7 separate regions of the Homo sapiens genome follow, and all the other regions are linked to region 5. The links are contacts of gene promoters, found by promoter capture Hi-C in blood cells and fetal thymus (Javierre and others, 2016). All regions are on one chromosome and are shown on one strand. Each heading gives the region's core, a stretch centred on a gene start or on the middle of the fragment in contact. The rest is flanking DNA. Distances are from core to core; before and after follow the strand shown. Region 1 overlaps USP13 (ubiquitin specific peptidase 13). Region 2 overlaps USP13 (ubiquitin specific peptidase 13). Region 3 overlaps USP13 (ubiquitin specific peptidase 13). Region 4 overlaps USP13 (ubiquitin specific peptidase 13). Region 5 holds the start of TTC14 (tetratricopeptide repeat domain 14). Region 6 overlaps NDUFB5 (NADH:ubiquinone oxidoreductase subunit B5). Region 7 has its middle 3.6 kb from the start of USP13.

The links. Contacts are between HindIII fragments. The CHiCAGO score rates a contact against its expected background, and 5 or more counts as called.
Region 1: a fragment that was not itself captured here is called in contact with the fragment with the promoter of TTC14 in region 5 in 1 of 17 cell types (endothelial precursors); the score reaches 5.2 in endothelial precursors.
Region 2: a contact is called between a fragment that was not itself captured here and the fragment with the promoter of TTC14 in region 5, in 5 of 17 cell types (M2 macrophages, M0 macrophages, endothelial precursors and 2 more). The highest score is 12.1, in M2 macrophages.
Region 3: a fragment that was not itself captured here is called in contact with the fragment with the promoter of TTC14 in region 5 in 7 of 17 cell types (endothelial precursors, M2 macrophages, M0 macrophages and 4 more); the score reaches 16.0 in endothelial precursors.
Region 4: a fragment that was not itself captured here is called in contact with the fragment with the promoter of TTC14 in region 5 in 4 of 17 cell types (M0 macrophages, M2 macrophages, M1 macrophages and 1 more); the score reaches 7.9 in M0 macrophages.
Region 6: a fragment that was not itself captured here is called in contact with the fragment with the promoter of TTC14 in region 5 in 1 of 17 cell types (naive CD8 T cells); the score reaches 6.3 in naive CD8 T cells.
Region 7: a fragment that was not itself captured here is called in contact with the fragment with the promoter of TTC14 in region 5 in 16 of 17 cell types (naive CD4 T cells, total CD4 T cells, non-activated CD4 T cells and 13 more); the score reaches 16.3 in naive CD4 T cells.

The regions. Positions count from the first base shown.
Region 1 is chr3:179,675,656-179,679,140 of GRCh38, forward strand. The region is part of intron 1 of USP13 (ubiquitin specific peptidase 13); the gene reads left to right. Among named protein-coding and RNA genes, the nearest start is that of USP13, 24 kb to the left of the region's middle. The HindIII fragment of the contact is 1,984 bases long and covers 823-2,806 here.
Region 2 is chr3:179,748,823-179,752,099 of GRCh38, forward strand. All of the region lies in intron 13 of USP13 (ubiquitin specific peptidase 13), which reads left to right. Among named protein-coding and RNA genes, the nearest start is that of USP13, 97 kb to the left of the region's middle. The HindIII fragment of the contact is 6,287 bases long and covers 1-3,277 here.
Region 3 is chr3:179,770,510-179,773,802 of GRCh38, forward strand. All of the region lies in intron 19 of USP13 (ubiquitin specific peptidase 13), which reads left to right. Among named protein-coding and RNA genes, the nearest start is that of USP13, 120 kb to the left of the region's middle. The HindIII fragment of the contact is 4,298 bases long and covers 1-3,293 here.
Region 4 is chr3:179,692,487-179,695,721 of GRCh38, forward strand. The region is part of intron 3 of USP13 (ubiquitin specific peptidase 13); the gene reads left to right. Among named protein-coding and RNA genes, the nearest start is that of USP13, 41 kb to the left of the region's middle. The HindIII fragment of the contact is 3,789 bases long and covers 1-3,162 here.
Region 5 is chr3:180,600,367-180,603,801 of GRCh38, forward strand. It overlaps TTC14 (tetratricopeptide repeat domain 14), which reads left to right and starts at 1,797. Exons shown (of 12, transcript NM_133462.4): 1 at 1,797-2,056; 2 at 2,525-2,649; 3 at 2,758-2,957. The coding sequence starts at 1,896. TTC14-DT (TTC14 divergent transcript) reads right to left here and starts at 1,747. Exons shown (of 3, transcript NR_183700.1): 1 at 1,537-1,747. RefSeq lists an enhancer at 1,588-1,877. The HindIII fragment of the contact is 2,365 bases long and covers 1,453-3,435 here.
Region 6 is chr3:179,618,349-179,622,031 of GRCh38, forward strand. It overlaps NDUFB5 (NADH:ubiquinone oxidoreductase subunit B5), which reads left to right. Exons shown (of 6, transcript NM_002492.4): 5 at 67-173. Among named protein-coding and RNA genes, the nearest start is that of NDUFB5, 15 kb to the left of the region's middle. The HindIII fragment of the contact is 5,639 bases long and covers 1-3,683 here.
Region 7 is chr3:179,647,579-179,651,267 of GRCh38, forward strand. It overlaps the pseudogene H3P13. Among named protein-coding and RNA genes, the nearest start is that of USP13, 3.6 kb to the right of the region's middle. The HindIII fragment of the contact is 5,252 bases long and covers 1-3,689 here.

The DNA.
Region 1 (3,485 bases), core at 565-3,064, 920 kb before region 5:
TCCTGCCTCAGCCTCCTGAGTAGCTGGGACTAGAAGCGTGTTCCGCCACGCCTGGCTAATTTTTGTGTTTTTAGTAGCAATGAGGTTTCACCATGTTGTCCAGGCTGGTCTGGAACTCCTGGCCTCAAGTGATCTGCCCATCTTGGCCTCCCAAAGTGCTGGGATTACAGGCTTGAGCCACTGTGCCCAGCCTGTAATCTATTTTAATTTAATAGAGCTGTCTACCACCATTACTTTAAAAAAAGTTTTATTTTGTATCCTGCCTGATATGGTTTGGCTGTGTCCCCACCCAAATCTTATCTTTGAATTGTAGTTCCCATAATCCCCACATGTCGTAGGAGGGACCTGGTGGGAGATAATTGAATCATGGGGTTGGTAACCCCCATCCTGTTCTCGTGATAGTGAGTGAATTTTCATGAGATCTGATGGTTTTATAAGGAGCTTTTCCCCCTTTGCTCAGCACTTCTCCTTCCAGCCGCCCTGTGAAGAAGGTGCCTTTCTTTCCCTTCACCTTCCGCCATGATTTTGTTTCCTGAGGCCTTCCCAGCCATGCGGAACTGTGAGTCAGTTAAACCTCTTTCCTTTATAAATTACCCAGTCTCGGGTGTTTCATTATAGTAGTGTGAGAATGGACTCATACACTGTCCTTTGATTCTTCCAGTTGCATTTCACTGTCATCTTGAACCTGGCCTGATTGCTTGGCTGCCCTTTTGTCCACATGGAGGCATGCGCTTTACCATGCTTTCTTGGGTGGTGATCTTAGTGAGAAGATGGCTGGTTAATGAGAGGATGAGGTTGAGGGTTTGAAACTGTGAGTCAAGAAGCTTAGCTTGATTGTGGGCTGTATACCATTCTCTGTGCTTTGGTCACAAGGAAATTGGGAGACAGTTATCCACATAGACTTTTTATCAGGATTGAAAGAAGCTGTTGGGAGCAGAGGCCATCGGGTGCTGACTCTGTATGTGAAAGACAGTGTATGATAGGACCAATATTTAGGTATTAATAGGGCAAGAGAGAAGAAAGCATGGATTATTAGACTGGGGTGTTTGTTTGTTCTATATGTGACAGGTTTGAAAGGGTTTTCTGTGTTAATGTTCCCTGAATTTTAAGAACTACTGGTGAATGTATTGGGCAGTGCCTCCCTGTCAGCACTGGCCATGTAAAGGGGCACACACTACCTCTGTGGCCAGCCTTGGTGTCCAGTGGAACATGCCTGTTGATGTTTTTTTTCCTCGCTCTATTGCGCAGGCTGGCGTGCAGTGGCATGATCTCGGCTCACTGCAATCTCTGCCTCCTGGGTTCAAGCGATTCTCCTGCCTCAGCCTCCCAAGTAGCTGGATTACAGGCACCTGCCACCATGCCTAGCTAAGTTTTGTATTTTTAGTAGAGACTGGATTTTACCACGTTGGTCAGGCTGGTCTCGAACTCCTGACCTCAAATGATCCACCTGCCTCGGCCTCCCAAAGTGCTGGAATTACAGGCGTGAGCCACTGTGCCCGGCCACCTGTTGATGTTATAATGAAATCCTTCCTTATGTGGCCATTCCTCTCTGAGTGTCAAATAATTTTTCTCTTTGATTATGGACTTCGTGACATTATCAAGCGGCTTCAGAAATTGAGAATTCATGTCTGGTATGTTAAATTTCTGGCCGGGTGCAGTGGCTCACGCTGTAATCCCAGCACTTTGGGAGGCCGAGGTGGGTGGATAACAAGGTCAGGAATTGCAGACCAGCCTGGCTAACATGGAGAAACCCCGTCTCTACTGAAAATACAACATTAGCCGGGTGTCGTGGCGCATGCCTCTAATCCCAGATACTTGGGAGGCTGAGGCAGGAGAATCACTTGAACCCAGGAGGTGGAGGTTGCGTTGAGCCAAGATCGCGCCATTGCATTCCAGCCTGGGCAACAAGAACAAAATTCAATGAGAAAATAAAATAAAATAAAATAAAATAAATTTCCATCAGATTCCCTAATAAGTAAAAAACTCTTGACAATGAAATTAGCAAAGACTATGATTACTTAAGAAACTATAGACTCTTGGATATAGAGTATTTCTATATTTTTCTTTAGAAAAATACTGTCCTTGAACATTTTTGTTCTTCTGATTGCTAATTTCTTGGTTCTTCTACTAGTTGCCTAGTGTTTTTTTCTGACAGATTAATATTTGTTACTCCCAGCCTATGTGGCTGTCAGACTCACTTATTCTTCCTCCTGCTTGTTTTCCCCAATTATAAAATGATTCAGATAATGAGATAATAATAATTAGCCCATAATGTATAATAAACAACATTTATGTATTGCCATATAGCACAGAAAGCACTTTGATATATTTCACCCCCTTTAAATTTCATGCAACTCTGTGTCGTGGGAATTATTGCTACGGCCATGTTTATAGAGGAGAACACTGGAGCTCAGAGCCCTATATGGCAGCCTGCCTTAGGCCAGAGAGCTAGCTGGTGACAGAGCATGACCTCTATTACAGATCCCATATTTTCCCCAGTAAATCTTCTGGTTCAAATTCATTGACTGAATTACATTTTATTAGAAGAGAATGGAACTTTTTAAAAAAATCACAATGGATTTAATGAATAATTGACTATTATAGTGATGCAGTATGTTTTTCTTAGGAGGTCTATCTATCCAAAGAACATGTTTATTTAGAAAACTCTTGAAAATACTTACCTAATCTGTTGATTAAATGCATGTAATGTGTTGTCTCTAGTTGAAGGACTTTTCTAATTTTATTTAAATGATTTCAGGTAAAGGCAGAAAAGTTATCCACAAGCACAAGCTATATTATAATTATAAGCTTTTTTGGATGCTATTTTTTTTTTTTGAGACAGGGTCTCTTTCTGTCACCCAGGCTGGATGGCACAATCATGGCTCACTGCAACCTTGACCTCCCTGGGCTAAAGTGACCCTCCCACCTCAGCCTCCTAAGTAGCTGGGACAAAAGGCTGGCTAATTTTTGTATTATTATTTTTTTGTAGAGACAGGGTTTCTCCATGTTGCCCAGACTGGTCTTGAACTCCTGGGCTCAAACAATCTGCCTGCCTCAGCCTCCCAAAATGCTGGGATTGGATGCTGTTTTGAAGTCAAGCTTTAAAAATTTCATTTGCAAGTGTTTGTTGCTAATGTCTGAAACTGCAGTTGACTCTGGTCTATTAACTTGTATCCTGTGATCTTGCTAAATTCACTTATTGCTCTTACTAGTTGTTATTTTCACTAGTGTGTGTAGATTCCTTAGAATTTTCAATATGGCCTGTACTGTCATTAGGAAATAGAGACCACTTTACTTCTTTCTTTGTGATCTTTATACCTTTTATTTATTTATTTATTTAGTTTGCTTATTGCAATGTATATGCTACAGTAGGAGGCACATACTTGAGTTAATGCTGTTAAGTGTTCACATTGTGAGAGGACTGTTTATATCCTCACTTAGAAATTCCAGATACAATGTTAGAGAATTTGATTATTAGAAAATTG
Region 2 (3,277 bases), core at 474-2,973, 850 kb before region 5:
AACTTATTGGTATGCAACCTTGGCCAAGTGATCTCACTGCCATAAGCCCAGCTTCCCTATCTGTAAACTGGGGATAATAATGGTACTTTCTTTACAGGGTTGGGGTAAGGATTAAGTGAGATAAGCCATGTAAAGTGCTTCACACAGGGCAAATATAGGATGGAGTTGTTATTTCTGTTATGTTTATCTTCGTTTTTTTGTCTTTGATGATATAATTTGAGTGTGGTGGATTAATGGTCATATTTTCAACCAGTAGACAGGAAGATTATGGTTTTTTTTAGTTGTTAGGTTTTCAATACTGTAGACATCTTAATGTCTTAATGTCAGGAAGAGGTACAGTTTATATTTCTTTCTCAATAAAATCTTTATCGTATTTTTGCCTTAATTGTGATTTAGTGAACAATCAATATATTTTAAATAATGCTAACAGGTTGTTAACAACAACACAGTATTGTTGTTGGGACATATTCTAAGCACTTTATATGTCTTAAATCATTTAATTCCCATAACAGCTCTTTGAAGAAAATTTGCTGTCTATCTAGATCTCTTTGAATGATTTACATTCTAATGATCTTTATTTAAAACATATCATTTTTCAAGAAATATTTTAATTCCAGAAATTAATTTTAGAAATAAAAGAATAAGCTGAGCATAATTTATAACTGTGCTAGATTTAACTAACTTGATGTCCCCAAACTGCAATAAATGAATGCAAAGCATAACTTTTGAGATTGATTTGAACAGATATATATTGAACAGTTACTACATGTGAGCGATTCAACTTGAGACCCTATAGAGATTACAAAGATGAATAAAGAATGTTTTACCCAATAGGGCAAATATTATGTGAACACCATCTAAATCTACTTTCTGGTACTTTTAGATTGGCGGCTACCTATAACACAGTGATGTGTTAAATTATCCCTGCCCCAACCTTGAGTTATTCCACTACCGCTATTATGGTATTACAGCTAACACTCCGCCTAGATACTGACCACAGAGCAGCTTCAAGAGTCTCAGGGATCCTGAGTCATATTTTGGAAATTATTGGTTTACCAATGTCTTTTGGTTGATTTCACTGTTATGTATTTTCCAGATTTTAAGCTAATATGGTAGGAAGAGTAGGTAAGAAAAAGAACATTTTTACATTAAAATATCATGGCCGGGTGCCGTGGCTCACATCTGTAATCCCAGCACTTTGGGAGGCCAAGGTGGGTGGATCACCTGAGGTTAGGAGTTTGAGACCAGCCTGGCCAACATGGTGAAACCCCATCTCTACTAAAAATACAAAAATTAGCTGGGCATGGTGGCAGGCACCTGTAATCCCAGCGACTCAGGAGGCTGAGGCAGGAGAATCACTTGAATCCGGGAGGCAGAGGTTGCAGTGACCCGAGATCACGCCATTGCACTCCAGCCTGTGCAACAAGAGCAAAACTCTGTCTCAAAATAATAATAATAATAATAAATATATATATGTGTGTGTATATATATATATATATGTGTGTATATATATATATATATATGTATATATATAAAATATCAGACAGAGTTTGTTGTTTTTTTGGTGCAGTTGAGGACTTGGTGACATTTAAATAAGAATAATGTGTATTACTGCTTCTCAGAAGATAGAAAAACCTAATTAGAGATAATATATAATTTCTGGAGAGTGAGCCTGGCTAATAGTAGATTAGTTGCTTGGGATGATAAAGCTCCTGTTTTCTGAATTGCCTTTATTCTTCTACCAACTTTGTAATGGAGAATTTGAGATACAGGGAATTTAAATAACTTGCCTGGAGGTAAAATACAGATAAGTGACAGTTCAATTCAGCATCCAAGGCTTTATAGCTTTTACCTCTTTCATGACAAAATAATCATGCTAATTCCTTAGGTATATACAATACTTTCTAGTGCGCCAAGCGGTTTCACATCATTTCATGAACATTGCACGGCCTGGCAGGTAGACATGATTAGTAAGTCCATTTTGTAGATGGATCAGGGAGTGTCAGTGGTTTGCCCAGATTTGGAGTGAATGAAGTGGCATTTTCAAGACCCACATCCACATCGTTTGACTGTTTTTTGCCCCGTGTTCTGTCCCTGCGCTGTGCCTTTTCTCTGACACTAGGGGGAAGCAATACATTTGCATTTGTTTTCTAACAGAAGATGCATTACAAATAGAAGGCAGTGACTTAGATTTGAAAAGTGGAATAGGGGAGGATATTCTAGAATTTTTTATTTTAAAAGGTATCTGTGATACCTATAAACAGCTCATTTTCTTTTTTACATATACCTACCACACCCACATTGACTACAAATAGAAATGGTTGTTAAAAACAAAATGATAAATGTGGAGTGAATGAGCTGGAACTAGGGTATGAATTTGGTGTACAGGTTGAACAGTCTGTGTATAAAATTGCCAAATCCATGCCCAGGAAATTGAGCCTTTCTGAAAGTTTGAAGAGGATTCAAGATACTGGTAATGTGTATTAATTTTAAACTTCAAGGCCCAGATTCAGATTTTTTGGATACTTATCCCATAATATGTCTACCCCTAGGATCCATGTGGCCATGGATTAAGTACCGCAGTATTTTAATGAGGCCCTGGCATTTCCAATAGTCAACCTCAGCCAAAGTTGCAGTAAGCCCTTCGTCCGCCAACTCTGCGCTATAAGACAGTGACTCTGTGTGGAAGTGGAAGTGGAGGTGGGGGTGTTTCAGGATCACCTGGGGAGACTTTTCAAACCCCACATACATGTATACCAAGCATGCATGCTGTAAACAGTTAAAACTATGTATACTAAACTCTAGCAAGGATTTCAGAAAAAATAAATGGTTGAAAAGCACTTTTCAGAAATATAGAACACCACAGCAAAGTAAAAGTAACAATTTTGAAACAGGTCCAAAAGCATTCTTTTTTTTTTTGAGATGGAGTCTCACTCTGTTGCCCAGGCTGGAGTCCAGTGGCATGATCTCAGCTCACTGCATCCTTTGCCTCTGGGGTTCAAGTGATTCTCCTGCCTCAGCCTCCCGAGTGGGGATTACAGGCGTGCCCCAATCCCCACTAATTTTTGTATTTTTGTGCCTGGCTAATTTTTGTATTTTTAGTAGAGACGGGGTTTCACCATGTTGGCCAGGCTGGTCTTGAACTCCTGACCTCAGGTGATCTGCCCACCTCGGCCTCCCAAAGTGCTGGGATTACAGGCGTGAGCCACCGCACCTACCCAAAAGCATTCTTAAACGATAACATTCTACATTAAACATTTTCTTCTTGTGAAGAGGC
Region 3 (3,293 bases), core at 180-2,679, 830 kb before region 5:
GGAAGATGTGTGTTCTGTTTAGCTAGGTTGTTTAAATTCCCAAGTCATTTCTTTTTACTTTTTCTGGTTGGTGAATTGACTGAGGTATATGACTTGAGAATTTTTTTTTTTTTTGAGATGGAGTCTCGCTCTGTCGCCAGGCTGGAGTGCAGTGGCGCCATCTCAGCAAACTGCAACCTCCAACTCCCTGGTTCAAGCTATTCTCCTGCCTCAGCCTCTGGAGTAGCTAGGATTACAGGCACGCGCCACCACACCCAGCTAATTTTTATACTGTTTTTAGTACAGATGGGGTTTCACCATGTTGGCCAGGATGGTCTCCATTTCCCGACCTTGTGATCTGCCTGCCTTGGCCTCCCAAAGTGCTGGGATTACAGGTGTGAGCCACTGCACCCAGCTGAGAATATTGAATACAATTAAAGAGTAGGGGTAATTGGTGTTTGAGGAACCAAAACAAACAAAATAAAAACAACTTCAGTTTTCAGGGTTTTAAGTGGCAAGAAGTCCAAGACAAATCTGTCTAAGCAAAAAGGGAAATATTTTCTCATGAAAGCTGGCAAGTCCTGGGGGCACTGGGCTGCAGGCCTGCCGTGATTCAGGACTCAAATCCTTTTAGCTGGATGGGCCCCTTGGCTCTGCTTCCTCTAGGTTGGTTCCAGTCCCAGACAGGCTCTCCCTAATGGCACAAGATGGCTGCAGCGCCTCCCACAACTATATCTTTCCAGGTTAAAATCTAGCTAAGTCTTGTCCCAGAGTTCTCAGCAAAGGTCCTGAGAGCCTGAGACTCTGTGAGACTCCGTTATGTGCCCTGTCCTACTCCAAGTCACTGAGGCAGGTTGATTCAGGCCTGCATTATGGGCCTCACTCCTAGAACCTGAGGGTGGAGACATCTTCCATCCTCTCACCTGAGCTGAGAAGGGACAGGTTGATCTCCTTCAAGCACTGGTTCAAGTGTGGTTCGGACTAATAGAATCACCTGAGAACTTGTTAGGACTGATGTTGCCCCACTTCAGACCTGCTGAATTAGGAACTCTGGGTGAGGCCCAGTAATCTGTGTTTTAACAGGACATCCAGGTGATTCTGATGCAGCTTAAACTTGAGAATTACCACCTTAAAAGCAGTGTTAGGTTACTGTTGCTTTAAGAAGGAGGGTCGTGGCTACTGGGACTTTGTCACACCAGGTTAACACTGAAATAATAAGGTAGGTGTTATGAAGTGGAAAAAAGCTATTATTACAAGGGTAGGGATTAAAGAAGTACAGGTATCAAATTTTTCCTTTTAGGAATATGTTAATTAAAAATCACTGTTTCCATTTTTCTGAATGTGGAAGTAATGCTACTGCATGAAACGATTATCTAAATGGCGTCTAATTTGTTTAAAAAGGTTAGTGCTATTAACACTTGATGAAATAGTGGCTGTCATTTCCTGAATGCCTCCTCTGTGCCAGGCACTTCCTTGACCACTTTTCCTTCACTGCTTATAGGGAGGTATTCTGATGAGGAAGTGGTGACAAAGCTAAGTGGTTTGCTAGTGGTAGAACCAGGTTAGAATTCAGGCCTGTTTGATTTTGAAGGCTGTGCAGTTTTTCCTTTATCCCCGATTGAGTCATCTTATTTCACATTTTGTATTGGAATGGAGACGAGAGTCTATTTTCTACCATGTTCTGCACATTTTAGGGCTAGCACCTAACTTTCTGTTGAGTTTTTTAAAACTTTAAAGCTAGAAATCAGGCCGTCACTCTGACCTATCGGGGCTTCTGCTATGTGCAAAATCATTTCTGTTTTCATGTTTCACTTAATGAGCATTTAATTTTTCTTAAGAAAAGAACTCACTGATTGCCAATGAAATTAACATGTGATTAGGCTGTGATTACTCAGAGCCTGCTCTGGCTCCTTCAGCCACTTTGGTGTAATGGTTTAGATGTCTCCGATGCTGCTGAGATTTTCCAGGCAGGGAGCAGAGAGGCGTTCATTTGCATAACGCTGGGGTTCCTGAGGTGCTGAGCTCCCTGAGGAATGCCACCCAGAAGAGGATCTAGGGGGCAAAAGGTACAGCTCCCCAGGGAAGCTAAGCCCCAGTGGTCGACTGGAAAGTCACATAGACACTTCATGCCACTGGTGCTAATTCTCCTCCCACTTAGCACTTGTTGCAGTTCCTAATTTTTTCAGCGGTGCTGTTGAAAGTTAAGAGGCAGCCACTCTTGAGTAAACTGATTTACACTGAAGGATAAATGATGGAGAACTATTAGACTTGGAAGGAAGTGTTTGCCTTTCGGAGCATTCGGCATTGTAACCGAGAGACTGGTAATTTGGAGCTGGCTAGGGTTGGGGGAAGCAATTCGTAGACCCTTTACAATTCTGTTGCTATCAGCTGCCTTCCGATGTTATTGATTTACCTAGGTCTGTCTTCTCTTTTTGAGAATTCAGAAATTTCTGAAAGCTCCAAATACTCCTCCCTCCCACACTGTTTTTTCTCAGAGAGGGCATGAGGGGAAATCAAGCTGTTGGAGAGATTGAACTTGTTGTATATTGCGCCTGATATACTTTGGATGTTTGTCCCCTCCAAATCTCATGTTGATATGCAAACTGCAGTGTTGGAGGTGGGACCTGGTGGGAGGTGTTTGGGTCATGGGAGTGGATCCCTCATGAATACCTTGTGGGGGAAAAGCATATCCCAGATAAATACCCAGATATTGGGTGCTTATGAGGCAAATGTTAGTAAGTTGGCAATTTTATTTCCCCCGCTTTGTACAGAGGGAGTTAGAGATAGGCAATGACACAAATTAATCAAGTAAAGAGCATTGGATGAGAACCCAGTTTTTCTCACCAGAGGACTGCTGTGCCTCTGGGGTCTTGGTAGTTATTTTAGGGAGTGTTTTGATGTCTCTGTGTTCTGAGCACTCTCTGTAGACTAACTAAATAATGCGTCATGCCCTGATGAGATACTGCTGCTTTGTAAATATTTTAGATGCTATAATGGCTTATAAAATTAAATTCATTTAAAGACACTTCTGAATCCAGAGTTGCTTTTGGTCATTACACTTGTTAAAGCATAATTTTCCAAAAGGCAAGATCATGACTTTCAGGTAAATGTAAAATGAACACATATCACAGATTTTAAAAAACTCATTAATTAATGAGAGAATCAGTCAGATGTTACTACTGGTTTAAAAACATTTGTGGAACTAGGATATTTAAAGACAATTTCAAAAAGAAATGTTAGGATGAGATTGCCAGGTTAGGTTAAAAATTAGTCAGTGTCTGTCAGGACCATAAATCCTTGAAATAATTATATTA
Region 4 (3,235 bases), core at 18-2,517, 910 kb before region 5:
CCACAACCCAGTTTAACCAACTAAACCCAAACCAAGCTAGCATGAACCCCAAAGCTGAAATTATTGAATATCTTCTGATGCTTTGGTTATTAGTCTTCCAGCACCTTTGCACTAATATAGATCATATGATTTCATTTGAATTAAGTAACGTCAGCAGGTTCTTCTTGAAGGCAGAACTAACTAAACATTTCGACTTACCATTGTTAATTTTTATTATTTTCTTTGGTTGAATGAAGAAGTTAGCTGACCTTGGCCTTTAATTTTTGTGTCTTCTTTTCATAAGACCTGGAGGTTTGATTTTTTTCTAGTGATTATTTTGGTTGTAGAGGATATTGTCAGGAAACTGTTTTAGAAATTAATTTGAAAGTTAGCACTGAGGTTTTGTGCTTCAAACTGTGTGGACCCCTTCCTTCCATTCTTCCGTAGGGGACTACCTACCATTTTGTTTCAGTGAGGCTTTTTCTACAGGTTATTCTCTGTATTCAGGCAAGATTTCATATCTTAGAAAACCACAAGGTGCATATAGAACTCACAGCCCCAAAAAAGTGTTCTATGACTATATTAATTTAAAAATGAATGCCATTAGCCCCACATTCCATTTCTCCCTATTGTTTTATATCCAGGTTCTTTACAAATTTACCTCCGTCATCCCAGTAGGAGTTCTTTCTTTTTCGGTTTTTGAGACAGGAACTCATTCTGTTGCCCAGGCTGGAGTGCAGTGCCACAATCATAGCTCCCTGCAGCCTCACCCTGCCAGGCTCAAGTGATCCTCATGCCTCAGCCTCCCAAGTAGCTGGGACTACAGGCACACACCACCACACATGGTTAATTAAAAAAAATTTTTTTTAAAGTGATGGGGTCTCACTGTGTTGCCCAGGCTGGTCTTGAACTTCTATGCTCAAGCAATCTTCTGACCTCAGTCTCCCAAAGTGCTGGGATTACATGTGTGAGCTGCTGTGCCTGGCCAGGAAGTTATTTTTTACAGGAATTCATTTTTTGCAAGTTCTGATTTAAAGCCCCCTCAACTGATGCTTCTCATCTCCTAGGAACAGGCACTTTTCTCTTGTCACATTGGTCCCAGCCCTGAGTTAATGTGACCTATAAATTAATTTCAGTGATGGGCTGTGTATTAGGGTTACATCTGGTTTATGTAACGGTAAATTTAAAACACTAGTAACTTTGTTTATTTATTTATTTATTTATTTGAGCCGGAGTCTTGCTCTGTCACCCAGGTTGGTGTGTAGTGGTGTGATGTCGGCTCACTGCAATATCCGCCCTCCGAGTTCAAGCAATTCTCCTGCCTCAGCCTCCCGAGTAGCTGGGATTACAGGTGCCCACCACCATGCCCAGCTAATTTTTGTATTTTTTTTTTTGTAGAGACGAGGTTTCACCATGTTGGTCAGGCTGGTCTCGAACTCCTGACCTCAGGTGGTCTGCCCACCTTGGCCTCCCAAAGTGCTGGGATTACAGGCGTGAACCACCACACCTGGCCTATTTATTTTTGAGACAGCATCTCACTGTGTCACTCAGGCTGGAGTGCAGTGGCATAATCATGGACACTGCAGACTCGGCCTCCTGTAGGGCTCAAGTGAACCTCCCACCTCAGCCTCCCAAGTAGCTGGGACCACAGGCATGCGCCACCATGCCTGGCTAATTTTTGTATTTTTCTGTGAAGACAGGGTTCTGCCATGTTGCCCAGGCTGGTCTCAAACTCCGGGGCTCAAGTGATCTGCCTGCCTTGGCCTCCCAGAATGCTGGGATTACAGATGTGAGCCACTGTGCCCGGCCGATTCTGGTAACTTTAAACAAGATAGATGCTTATTTTGCTGTCATGTAGAGGATGTTGGGAAACAGTAAGTGTGGTGATGTGATGGCCTCATGTTCACCAGGGATCTAGGCTCTTCCCATATTCCTGCTTCACCCTCCATCCTGGCCCATGATTTCCAACCTCATGGTCACCTTACGGTCCAAAATGGCTACTGGAACTCCAACCATCACATCCTGATTCTGGAAAGCATGAAAGAGGAAAGGGGAGGCCGGGCGCGGTGGCTCATGCCTGTAATCTCAGCACTTTGGGAGGCCAAGGTGGGTGGATCACCTGAGGTCAGGAGTTCGGCAGCCTGGCCAACGTGGTGAAACCCTGTCTCTACTAAAAATACAAAAAATTAGCTGGGCATGGTGGCACATGACTGTAATCCCAGCTATTTGTGAGGCTGAGGCAGGAGAATTGCTTGAACCTGGGAGGCGGAGGTTGCAGTGAGCTGAGATCGCACCATTGCACTCCAGCCTGGGCAAAGAGTGAAACTCCATCTCAAAAAAAAAAAAAAAAAAAAAAAAGAAACAAAGAAAAGAGGAGAAAGAGGAAGGACAAAATAGTCTAATCTCCCAGCAGAGTCACCTTGCCTTTGTCAGCCTTCTCATAGAGCCCCCAATCAGTTTACGCCTCTCTGGCAGAACTTGGTCACGTGGCCACATCTAGCTGCACAGGAGACTGGAAAATAAAGCCCACCAGCGGGCTCCGCTGAGTAAAGTTGGGGTCTCTTATTAGGAAGAAGGGGACAGTGGGTATTGGGAGGCAGCTAGTAGCCTCTGCCACAGACTCTTTCCCTCAAAGGGATGCTGGGATTGTTTCCTCATGGAGAGGAAGATAACTCAGAGCTCTCTTGCAGTTTCTCTGTTATTTTTTGGCTAGGAAGTACTATTTCACTGGTACTGAAATGAAATTATGATGCTCCTTCTTCGGCTTCATGAAGCAGATGTAGGTGGCCAATGCTTTATCTTGGGTGGAGGTGTTTTATTCCCATTCATTTGATGACTTTGTGAATAATTCCTTTTCCATCAGCTCAACAGTGACATTGAAACCATTGAATCATTTGGTTACAACCTGCAATTGACTTTACAAGGGAAGCTGAGGCCACTGGCTGGTGCCAAAAGGCTTCCTGGTGTCCTGAGCAGCACCCTGCCTCTCAGTGGTCAAATCACTTTCCCTCCATATTACTTTGATGTTCATTCAAGTGAAATGACCTCAGTACTAGCTTTTGCTGCTATTTTTTTTTTTTTAACTAGCAACGACAATTATTGGTAATTGAAAAATCATTTAAATTCTATACTTTTAAAACATTTAGGATTAAAATTTTTTTTCAATATGTACCTCATGGGTAAAGCTTAAAATTGAGAAGTTATAAAGGGCTCCTCAGTGAAAATTAAGTTTTTTTCCCCTCCCTTCCCTGTATCC
Region 5 (3,435 bases), core at 547-3,046:
CCTCCAAAAAATGAGGTCCTTGATCACAGATTGACTCTAACACAAATCACATACTTATCAAGATGTCTATAATAATTTTTAGTGGTCAGCTTTCCTTTTCAGTGACAGCACTCTTTCCTAAAAACAACCATTCTCTAGAGTTATGGCTTAAAACAAGTCAGTCTGTACCATTTATTAAAGTTGATATGCCTATAGAAGCTTGAAATTTATTTATTTATTTATTTATTGAGACGGAGTCTCCCTCCGGCGCCCAAGCTGGACTGCCGTGGCGCGATCTCAGTTCATTACAACCCCCGCCTCCGGAGTTCAAGAGATTCTCGTGCCTCAGCCTCCCGAGTAGCTGGGACTACAGGCATGAGCCACCACGCTCGGCTAATTTTTGTATTTTTAGTAGAGACGGGGTTAGGCCATGGTGGCCAAGCTGGTCTCTGAACTCCTGACCTCAAGTGATCCACCCTCGGCCTCCCAAAGTACTGGGATTACAGGTGTGAGCCACCGTGCCTAACCCAAATTTATCTTTTACAGTTGCATTCTTGTTTGTTGCATTTTCTCAAGTCTCAAACTGTTTACCTATTTGCCTGGGTTTTCCACAAAACAGTGTGGCAGTATCGATTATGTTCTGGGCTAGATCTCCTATACAAAAGTGGTAACACAGTGAAAGGCAAGTTGATTTCCTCAAAGACACATGGTGGGAAGTGGAGAGACTAACTGTCACCGTTTATTTCTGTTCAAGAGGACTATACTGAACTATTTACACTGAACATATTTAAATGGTACAAATTTTATACTGGAATAAAACGAAGCTACATGATCTCAAAATTAGGGTTAGTTAGACCTTCCATATGATAAAATACTCAATCCAGCAACTCTGCCTGAGAAGACCAATTAATACTTCGTTTGGAATCCTAACTCTAGCCTCTTACTAGCTGTGTGCCATTGAGCAATTTACTGGGACTCTCTGAGCATGTTTCCTCGTTTTCTAAAATGAAAAAGTACAATAGCTACCATAGTGGTTAGGTTCTCAAGTCAGTAAGTAAGGGGATGGGGGACCTAAGTTGAAATTCCCTTTGAAAATCACTTGAATTGTCCATAAGAACAGTATATTGACTTTTGCGTACATACCACTATACAGTAAGTCCCACAGACACTAAATTTTGAGCAACCATTGAGATAAACTAAATAAGAAATGCATGTGTTCATTAGTTATTGTAAAACTTGAATGGCATATGCACGTGTGGAGACATTAAAGCCATCCTGGTTTTAGAATTCACAATCACTAACAGTAAATGGGGTATGGATGGAGAACACCACTCCAGGTGCTTAACAAATGTCCGTGTCCTTCCTTTCTTCTGCCCTTAAAACCACCTGGAAACCTTCCCGGAGCAGCCGGTTGAATGGGGTTACGCCAGAGACACAGGTATTGATTTACGCAGAGAGTACGTCGAGGGAAGAAGCTTGGAGACTCGTATAGGGTTCTTACCCTGGCACTGGCACTTAGAAGCACCTTGATGAATACGAAAAGGAATTATTATTTACCCTAGGTTACAGCTCGAGCTATTTCGACGTAATAACGATCCCACGTACACTTTAAAAAGCAAACTTCTCACATACATCACTTCCTGGAAGCCCTAGTCAGCCTTTAGCCCAAGCAATGCTGAGCCCAATCCTTCGGCCTTCCGTAGTCTCGCTCGGTTTCGCGAGATCGAGGCTGAGCTCCGCCGCGCCGCCGTGGGGGCGACCCCAGAACACTTCCGGGTGTAACTGGTTGTGCTGTCTGTGTACTTCCGGCAGCCTCCAGACAGTTTCTTCCGCTTCCTGTACCACCCGGCTCAAGTAGCGGACACGGAACAGGGAACTATCAGCCCGTCGGCCTCCGGGCCCTGCATTCTCTAGCCATGGACCGGGACCTTTTGCGGCAGTCGCTAAATTGCCACGGGTCGTCTTTGCTCTCTCTACTTCGGAGCGAACAGCAGGACAATCCACACTTCCGTAGCCTCCTGGGGTCGGCCGCCGAGCCAGCCCGGGGCCCGCCGCCCCAGCACCCGTTGCAGGGCAGGTAATGAGACGTTGGTGCCACTGCGCCACGGAAGAGGGGACGCAGCTCTGGCAGCCACTACCGCAGCCCCGGGTTTGCGTCTAGAGGAAGTGGAGCCGCGGCCGTGAGCACAGGACGATCGCGCGCTGGTGTCTTGGGCTGGGTGGACGGGGGGCGCTCCTGGGTTGTGCAATGCGGGATGCGGGCTGAACTTTTTCTCTGGCACTGCTTGGTAGAGGCGCAGATTCCTTAGCTAAAAATCCCTTGAGCTTTCCTATCTGAGTTGGAGGCGTCACTTTTTAAGTTTCCCCGCTCTCCACCTCCAGGTTGGTTAATGAGGGAATGCCTAGTTAAAACTTTTTGTCTGAGGTTGTATTGTCTGCAGCTTAGGATGGAGCGGAATGGGCGATGAAAGCCATAAGCAGAAGGTTAGAAGTAAAGAGGCTTTGCAGATAACCCAATTTTCATATATATTTTTTTCTTTTTAAGAAAAGAGAAGAGAGTTGACAACATCGAGATACAGAAATTCATCTCCAAAAAAGCGGATCTGCTTTTTGCACTTTCCTGGAAATCAGATGCACCTGCAACTTCTGAAATTAATGAAGACAGTGAAGGTCAGTTTAGCCTTAAAATCTTTAAGATTGCGGTTCGGTTTAACAGTACTTCAGGTGAAACGGAACTCAAAACTATCGTTAGTGATTTTGTTAATTTTTTTTTTTTAGATCATTATGCAATCATGCCACCTTTAGAGCAATTCATGGAGATACCTAGTATGGATCGGAGAGAGCTGTTTTTCCGAGATATTGAGCGTGGTGATATAGTGATTGGAAGAATTAGTTCTATTCGGGAATTCGGTTTTTTCATGGTGTTGATCTGTTTAGGAAGTGGTATCATGAGAGATATAGCCCACTTAGAAATCACAGTAAGTTATTTTTGTTACTTGGATTGCTTCTGTTTTTGTTAACGCATCTCAATGCAAGAACTATATCTTTGCATGCAGTTGTGCTCAAGTATACCTGCCAAGATGCTTTTGGAAATTAAATGTTAATTGGAGAAAAATAGTTTAAAAAAATTAGTGTAAGTTACCCAGTTTCTCCCTCCATTTCTGGTTTTTGGGATTTTTTAAATTTAAACTGGTTGGCAGGCACAGTGTTCTTTTCTAAATGCTCAAAGAGGTATCAGTGGACGTGGTGAGGTTGATTGATATTCAGACTTATTTCTTGTAGTTGAACATATGTATTCTTAATTAGTTAATATTTGGCATTGTATATTTTCATGTGGATAATTTGGAGAGAAGTTTCATTTATATATTTACAATAATTAAATGTAAGTGGTTTGTACATTATATTAAGATACTTTGCCCAAGATGGATAGTCCTGAATTTAAACTAATGTGTCACG
Region 6 (3,683 bases), core at 765-3,264, 980 kb before region 5:
TAGTCAACTAGAAAAGCAAAGTATTATTCAGAAATGGACTAATATTAAACGAATTTTCTCTTGTAGCATCCCATATCAAGATGGATTGCCCGTAATTTCTATGATAGTCCTGAAAAGATATATGAAAGAACAATGGCCGTCCTTCAGATTGAAGCTGAAAAGGCTGAATTACGGTAGGAAAAACGAGGGGGTAGGTGGGAAAGAAAATCTTCCTAAGGTAGCAAACCACCAGAAAAAATTAATAAAACTATGAATATTTCAGCACTATAGGATACTTTATGTAAAAGGATAAAGATACGTCCAGATGCAGTGGCTCACACCTGTAATCCCAGCACTTTGGGAGGCTACAGAAATTAGCCGGGCGTGGTGGTACGTGCCTGTAATCCCAGCTACTCAAGAGGCTGAGGCAGAAGAATCACTTCAACCTAGGAGGCAGAGGTTGCAGTGAGCCAAGACCATGCCACTGCACTGCAGCCTGGGTGGCAGTGTGAGACTCCGTCTCCAAAGGAAAAAAAAAATGGATAAAGATAGAATTAGCTTGTTTGGAGTGAAAACTATAAACTGGTGACAAGGAGACTATTAGGAGATATGTGTCAGATTAAAGAGTTCTTTTTTAAATTTTTGAATTTTTTTTTAGAGTGGAAGTCTTGCTCTGTTGCCCCAGCTGGGAAGCAGATGGATGGGTATATCCATCCAGTGAAATATATAATGTGGCCATTAAAAAGAAAGGGATATATGCTGTTATGGAAAGCTATGTGGATTTTCTTTCTTATACATTATATTTTATATACATATTAAAAAGCTAGACACATATATTTTTTCCCCTCTCTTATGGTGCTGAGTGCCTGTTTTTTTTTTTTTTTTTTTAATTATACTTTAAGTTTTAGGGTACATGTGCACAACATGCAGGTTAGTTATGTATACATGTGCCGTGTTGGTGTGCTGCACCCATTAACTCATTATTTAACATTAGGTATATCTCCTAATGCTATCCCTCCCCCCTCCACCCACCCCACAACAGGCCCCAGTGTGTGATGTTCCCCTTCCTGTGTCCATGTGTTCTCATTGTTCAATTCCCACCTATGACTGAGAACATGCAGTGTTTGGTTTTTTGTCCTTGCGATAGTTTGCTAAGAATGATGGTTTCCAGCTTCATCCATGTCCCTACAAAGGACATGAACTCATCATTTTTTATGGCTGCATAGTATTCCATGGTGTGTATGTGCCACATTTTCTTAATCCAGTCTATCACTGTTGGACATTTGGCTTGTCCAAGTCTTTGCTATTGTGAATAGTGCCACAGTAAACATATGTGTGCATGTGTCTTTATAGCAGCATGATTTATAATCCTTTGGGTATATACCCAGTAATGGGATTGCTGGGTCAAATGGTATTTCTAGTTCTAGATCCCTGAGGAATCGCCACACTGACTTCCACAATGATTGAACTAGTTTACAGTCCCACCAACAGTGTAAAAGTGTTCCTATTTCTCCACATCCTCTCCAGCACCTGTTGTTTCCTGACTTTTTAATGATCACCATTCTAACTGGTGTGAGATGGTATCTCATTGTGGTTTTGATTTGCATTTCTCTGATGGCCAGTGATATGAATATTTTTTCATGTGTCTTTTGGCTGCATAAATGTCTTCTTTTGAGAAGTGTCTGTTCATATCCTTTGCCCACTTTTTGATGGGGTTGTTTGTTTTTTTCTTGTAAATTTGTTTGAGTTCATTGTAGATTCTGGATATTAGCCCTTTGTCACATGAGTATATTGCAAAAATTTTTTCCCATTCTGTAGGTTGCCTGTTCACTCTGATGGTAGTTTCTTTTGCTGTGCAGAGCTCTTTAGTTTAATTAGATCCCATTTGTCAATTTTGGCTTTTGTTGCCATTGCCTTTGGTGTTTTAGACATGAAGTCCTTGCCCATGCCTATATCCTGAATGGTATTGCCTAGGTTTTCTTCTGGGGTTTTTATGGTTTTAGGTCTAACATTTAGGTCTTTAATCCATCTTGAATTAATTTTTGTATAAGGTGTAAGGAAGGGATCCAGTTTCAGCTTTCTACATATGGCTAGCCAGTTTCCCAGCACCATTTATTAAATAGGGAATCCTTTCCCCATTTCTTGTTTTCGTCAAGTTTGTCAAAGATCAGATAGTTGTAGATATGCGGCATTATTTCTGAGGGCTCTGTTCTGTTCCATTAGTCTATATCTCTGTTTTGGTACCAGTACCATGCTGTTTTGGTTACTGTAGCCTTGTAGTATAGTTTGAAGTCAGGTAGCGTGATGCCTCCAGCTTTGTTCTTTTGGCTTAGGATTGACTTGGAGTGCCTGTGTTTTTTTAACCAGTCCCCTATTGCTGGTACTTGGGTTCTTTCCAAGTTTTTTGCTATTGTACATACTGCTGTGTTTAATTTTCCCCCATATTGTTTGCATATTTATGTAACATATCTGGAAAATAAATTTCTGGAAGTGGCATTAATAAGCCAAATAGCACATGCTTTTAAACTTTGGGTAGATATTGCCAAACTCTTCTCCAAAAAGTTGCACCAGTTGTTTCTTCATCAGTTTCCATGTTTCAGTTTTCCATGTTTCTCTGTAATGGAATTTATCAAAGTGAAACATTTTTGTTGATAGGGTAATTGAAAAATGTTACCTCATCATTTCAATTTTATATTTCTTTGTAAAGTTGAGTAGTTTTTTTAATATCTATTAATTGTGTGTATTTCTTTTCTTTCTTCCCCCCGCCCGAGACAAAGTCTTGCTCTGTTGCCCAGGCTGGAGTACAGTGGCATGATCTTGACTCACTGCAGCCTTGGTCTCCTGGGTTCAAGCTGTCCTCCCACCCAAGCCTCCCTAGTAGCCAAGATTACAGGTGCATGACACCATGCCCAGTTAATTTTTGTATTTTTTGTAAAGACATAGTTTCACCGTGTTGCCTAGGCTGCTCTCAAACACCTGGGTTCAAGCGATCCACCCTCTGGGCCTCCCAAAATGCTGAGATTACAGGCGTGAGCCACTGCACCTGGCTATGTGTATTTCTTTCTCTATATATTGTCTTTTGGCAGTGTAGAAATTTTTGCAACACAGAAGTGTTTTTACATTTTCAGGTAACAAATCTGTAATAGTAACTAATAATATTTTCTTTTTCTTTTTTTTTTTTTTTTGAGACAGTTTTGCTCTGTCTCCCAGGCTGGAGTACAGTGGCGTGGTCTCGGCACACTGCAACCTCTGCTTTCCGGGTTCAAGCGATTCTGCCTCAGCCTCCCGAGTAGCTGGGATTACAGGCGCCCGCCACCACACCCCGCAAATTTTTGTATTTTTAGTAGAGACCGGGTTTTGCCAGGCTGGTCTTGAACTCCTGGCCTCAAGTGATCTGCCTGCCTCAGCCTCCCAAAGTGCTGGGATTACATACGTGAGCCACCATACCTGGCCGCTAATAAATTTTTGAGTACATTTAATATCAGTGTTTTAATTACTTTCTATGTATTTACTCATTTATAATTATTGTCAGGTTTGACAGTCTTTAGCTTTTGGGATTTTGTGTCATACAGAGATCTCTGATGATAATTAAATCAGTAAATATGTAATTCCAAAATTATTTTTTTTAATATTCACCATGTCTTCCTTTTCTTTTTTTGAGACAGGATCTCGTTCTGTTGCCTCAGCTGGAGTGCAGTGTTGCA
Region 7 (3,689 bases), core at 1,125-3,624, 950 kb before region 5:
CGAACTCCTGACCTCAGGTGATCCGCCCACCTTGGCCTCTCAAAGTGTTGGATTACAGGCGTAAGCCACCGCGCCCGGCTGATAACTTTTTATATTACAAAACAAATGCGATATCATTGGAAACATTTTGAAAATAGAAACAAAATCTTATAACTTAATCCCAAACATAACTATTTAAATTTTCCAGTCTTGTCAAAATGGCTATTTATTTTTACCCAGTTGCGATAATGTTATATAAGTATAGCAAGCATGTTAAGCAGCATTCTATAAACATATTAAATCATTCATTTTCATAATTATCATTTTAAGTTTGTATAAGCATCTTTGAGTAGATGTATCTAATTTAATAATTTCTCTATCTTTAGATGTTTTCTATTTTTCCCTGGTTTGATTAGAACTTTCCATCTGGTATGCCATTGGCATTCTGGTGCACAGAGATGGATTCAGGTGTGGTATCTCCTCAGTCCTCTGAGAGGCCGTGGATGGGACCTGTGGTGATCAGAGTCCTCAGATTAGTAGGCTCTGGCTAAAAGACACATCCTTGACTGATTATTTCAGTGGGTTGTACAAATATCATTTTCAACGTGTGCCATTATATGAAAAAAGTTGGAATGCGTTTTTATAGTGATGCAACTTCAATTTCTATTACTATTACTAGTCATTGAACTTGTAGTGTTTTTACAATTGAGTTTTAATTACTTTTTTATAGTTTAATGTATTTTAATAGCAAAGTTACAGGAACAGCACAGAAGACAGACAACATTTAAAAACATGGGCTAGTTGCAGTGGCTCACGACTGTAATCCTAGCATTTTGGGAGGCCGAGGTGGGTGGATCACAAGGTCAGCAGTTCAAGACAAGCCTGGCCAAGATGGTGAACTCCTGTCTCTACTAAAAATACAAAAATTAGCCGGACATGGTGGCGGGCACCTGTAATCCCAGCTACTCAGGAGGCTGAGGCAGAGAATTGCTTGAACTCGGGAGGTGGAGGTTGCAGTGAGCCGAGATCACACCACTGCCCTCCAGCCTGGGCAACAGAGTGAGACTGTCTTAAAAACAAAAACAAAACAAAACAAAACAAAACAAACAAAAACCAAAAAAAATGTACTTGCATGTAGGACAACACAGAAAGTATAGTGATGGAATATACTGTATGATAAAAATGATACAAACACCATTTAGTTGCCGTCAATAAGAAATTTACTTGTTTTTAAAAAAATCCAAATGCTGGCATTGTCCAGAAAAATTTAACACGTTTATTATAATTATTATAAAGTTAAACTGCTGAAACTTGTTCACTGAAACATTTTGACTCGCATTAATGCTTTACGTCCCCACATTTATATTAAAAATTCACACACAAATGAAAATGGAAAAACTGCCAATACCTGATTTCTGTCCCCTATTTTTCCACTCGCAATCATATATACTTAGTACGTTTTGACCCCATGGGAAAAAAAAAATAGATAACGTTCAGAACTACCAACAACAGGTAAAAGAAATTGTGTGTGTGTGTGTGTGTGTGTGTGTGTGTGTTAGAATGAAGTGTTTCCCATCATAGTGGCTTCTTTTTTTTTTTTTTTTTTTTTCTGAGACAGGGTTTCGCTTTTCTTGCCCCAGGCTAGAGTGCAATGGCGCGATCTCGGCTCACTGCAACCTCTGCCTCCCAGGTTCAAGCGATTCTCCTGCCTCAACCTCCTGAGTAGCTGGGACTACAGGCATGCGCCACCACACCTGGCTGGTTTTGTATTTTTAGTAGAGATGGGGTTTCTCCATATTGGTCAGGCTGGTCTCGAACTCCCGACCTCAGGTGATCCGCCCGCTTCGGCCTCCCAAAGTGCTGGGATTACAGGCGTGAGCCACCGTGCCCAGCATAGTGGATTCTTAAGCACATTCTTCAGGTATGTGGTGTGTTAGCTGGATGTCTTTTGGCATAATTGTTACATGTTCGGCATGGATAGCACACAGGTTGGTGTCTTCAAAAAGACCAACCAGGTAGGCCTCACTTGCCTCCTGCAAAGCACCAACAGCTGCACTCTGGAAGTGCATATCTGTTTTAAAGTCCTGAGCAATTTCTCGCACCAGACACTGGAAGGGAAGTTTGCGAATCAGAAGTTCAGTGGACTTCTGATAACGTCTAATTTCACGAGTGCCACAGTACCAGGTCTGTAATGATGAGGTTTCTTCACCCGTCCAGTAGAGGGCGCACTCTTGCGGCGTTTGTAGCTAGTTGCTTCCTGGAGTTTTTTTTGTTTGTTTTTTTTTGCTTTTTGTTTTTTTTTTTTTTTTGTTTGAGACGGAGTCTCACTCTGTCGCCCAGGCTGGAGTGCAGTGGCGCGATCTTCGCTCACTGCAACCTCCGCCCCCCAGGTTCAAGCGAGTCTCCTGCCTCGGCCTCCCGAGTAGCTGGGACTCCAGGCGCCTGCCACCGCGCTCAGCTATTTTTTTTTTTTTTTTTTTTTTGTATTTTAACTAGGGACAGGGTTTCACCATCTTGGCCAGGCTGGTCTTGAACTCCTGACCTCGTGATCCACCCGCCTCGGCCTCCCAAAGTGCTGGGATTGCTTCCTGGGTTCTTTACCACCAATTGATTTTTGGGCAGTCAGCTTTGTACCAGCCATGGTATAGTGACCTCCTTACTTAGACCCGTTCTTCTGCTGGAGCGTGGCGAGTGACAGGCGGCGCTGGTGTTGGAGAGCGATGGCTGAGTTTTAATTAACTTTTAAAGCAATACTTGAGGCCGGGCGCGGTGGCTCACGCCTGTAATCCCAGCACTTTGGGAGGCCGAGGTGGGAGACCAGACTGGCCAACGTGACGAAACCCCGTCTCTACAAAAAAAAAAAAAAAAAAACAACAAAAAATTAGCCTGGCGTGGTGGCGTGCATCTGTGGTCCCAGCTACTTGGAAGGCTGAGGCGGGAGAATCGCTTCAACCCAGGAGGCGGAGGTTGCAGTGAGCTGAGAGCGCGCCATTGCAGTCCAGCCTGGGCGACAGAGGGAGACTCCATCTCCAAAAAGAAAGGGGGGGAAAAAGCAATACTTGCACATAATACAAATGGAATCATACAGAAAGCTACAAAGTGGTAGTGTAGTAATCTGTTTTCACGCTGCTGACAAAGACATACCTGAGACCGGGCAATTTACAAAAGAAAGTTTTATTGGACTTACAGTTCCATGTGGCTGGGGAGGCTTCACAATCATGGTGGAAGGTGAAAGGCACGTCTCAGATGGAGGCAGACAACTGGAGAGAGCTTGTGCAGGGAGACTCACGTTTGTAAAACCATCAGCTCTTGTGAGACTTATTCACTATCACAAGAACAGCACGAGAAAGACCTGCCCCCATGATTCAATTACCACCTACTGGGTCTCTCCCACAACACGTGGGAATTCAAGATGAGATTTGGGTGGGGACACAGCCCTACCATACCAGGTAGTAAGTTCTCCCTTAACCTCAGGCTTTCAGTTCTTCTCCACAGAGCCTGACTAGTTTCTTGTGTATTGCTCTAGAGACATCCTAAAGCCAAACAAGTGGGCATGCATACACATATGTATATTTTAAGGGGCTACATTAAAAATATTTACTACAAGTACAACCAACTGGAATGAAGGCCCATGGTATATAGGATGTGCCAAAATGCCTACTGCATATTATCAGCCTTGCATGTATTCCTTGCTTTTATACACTAGTTTG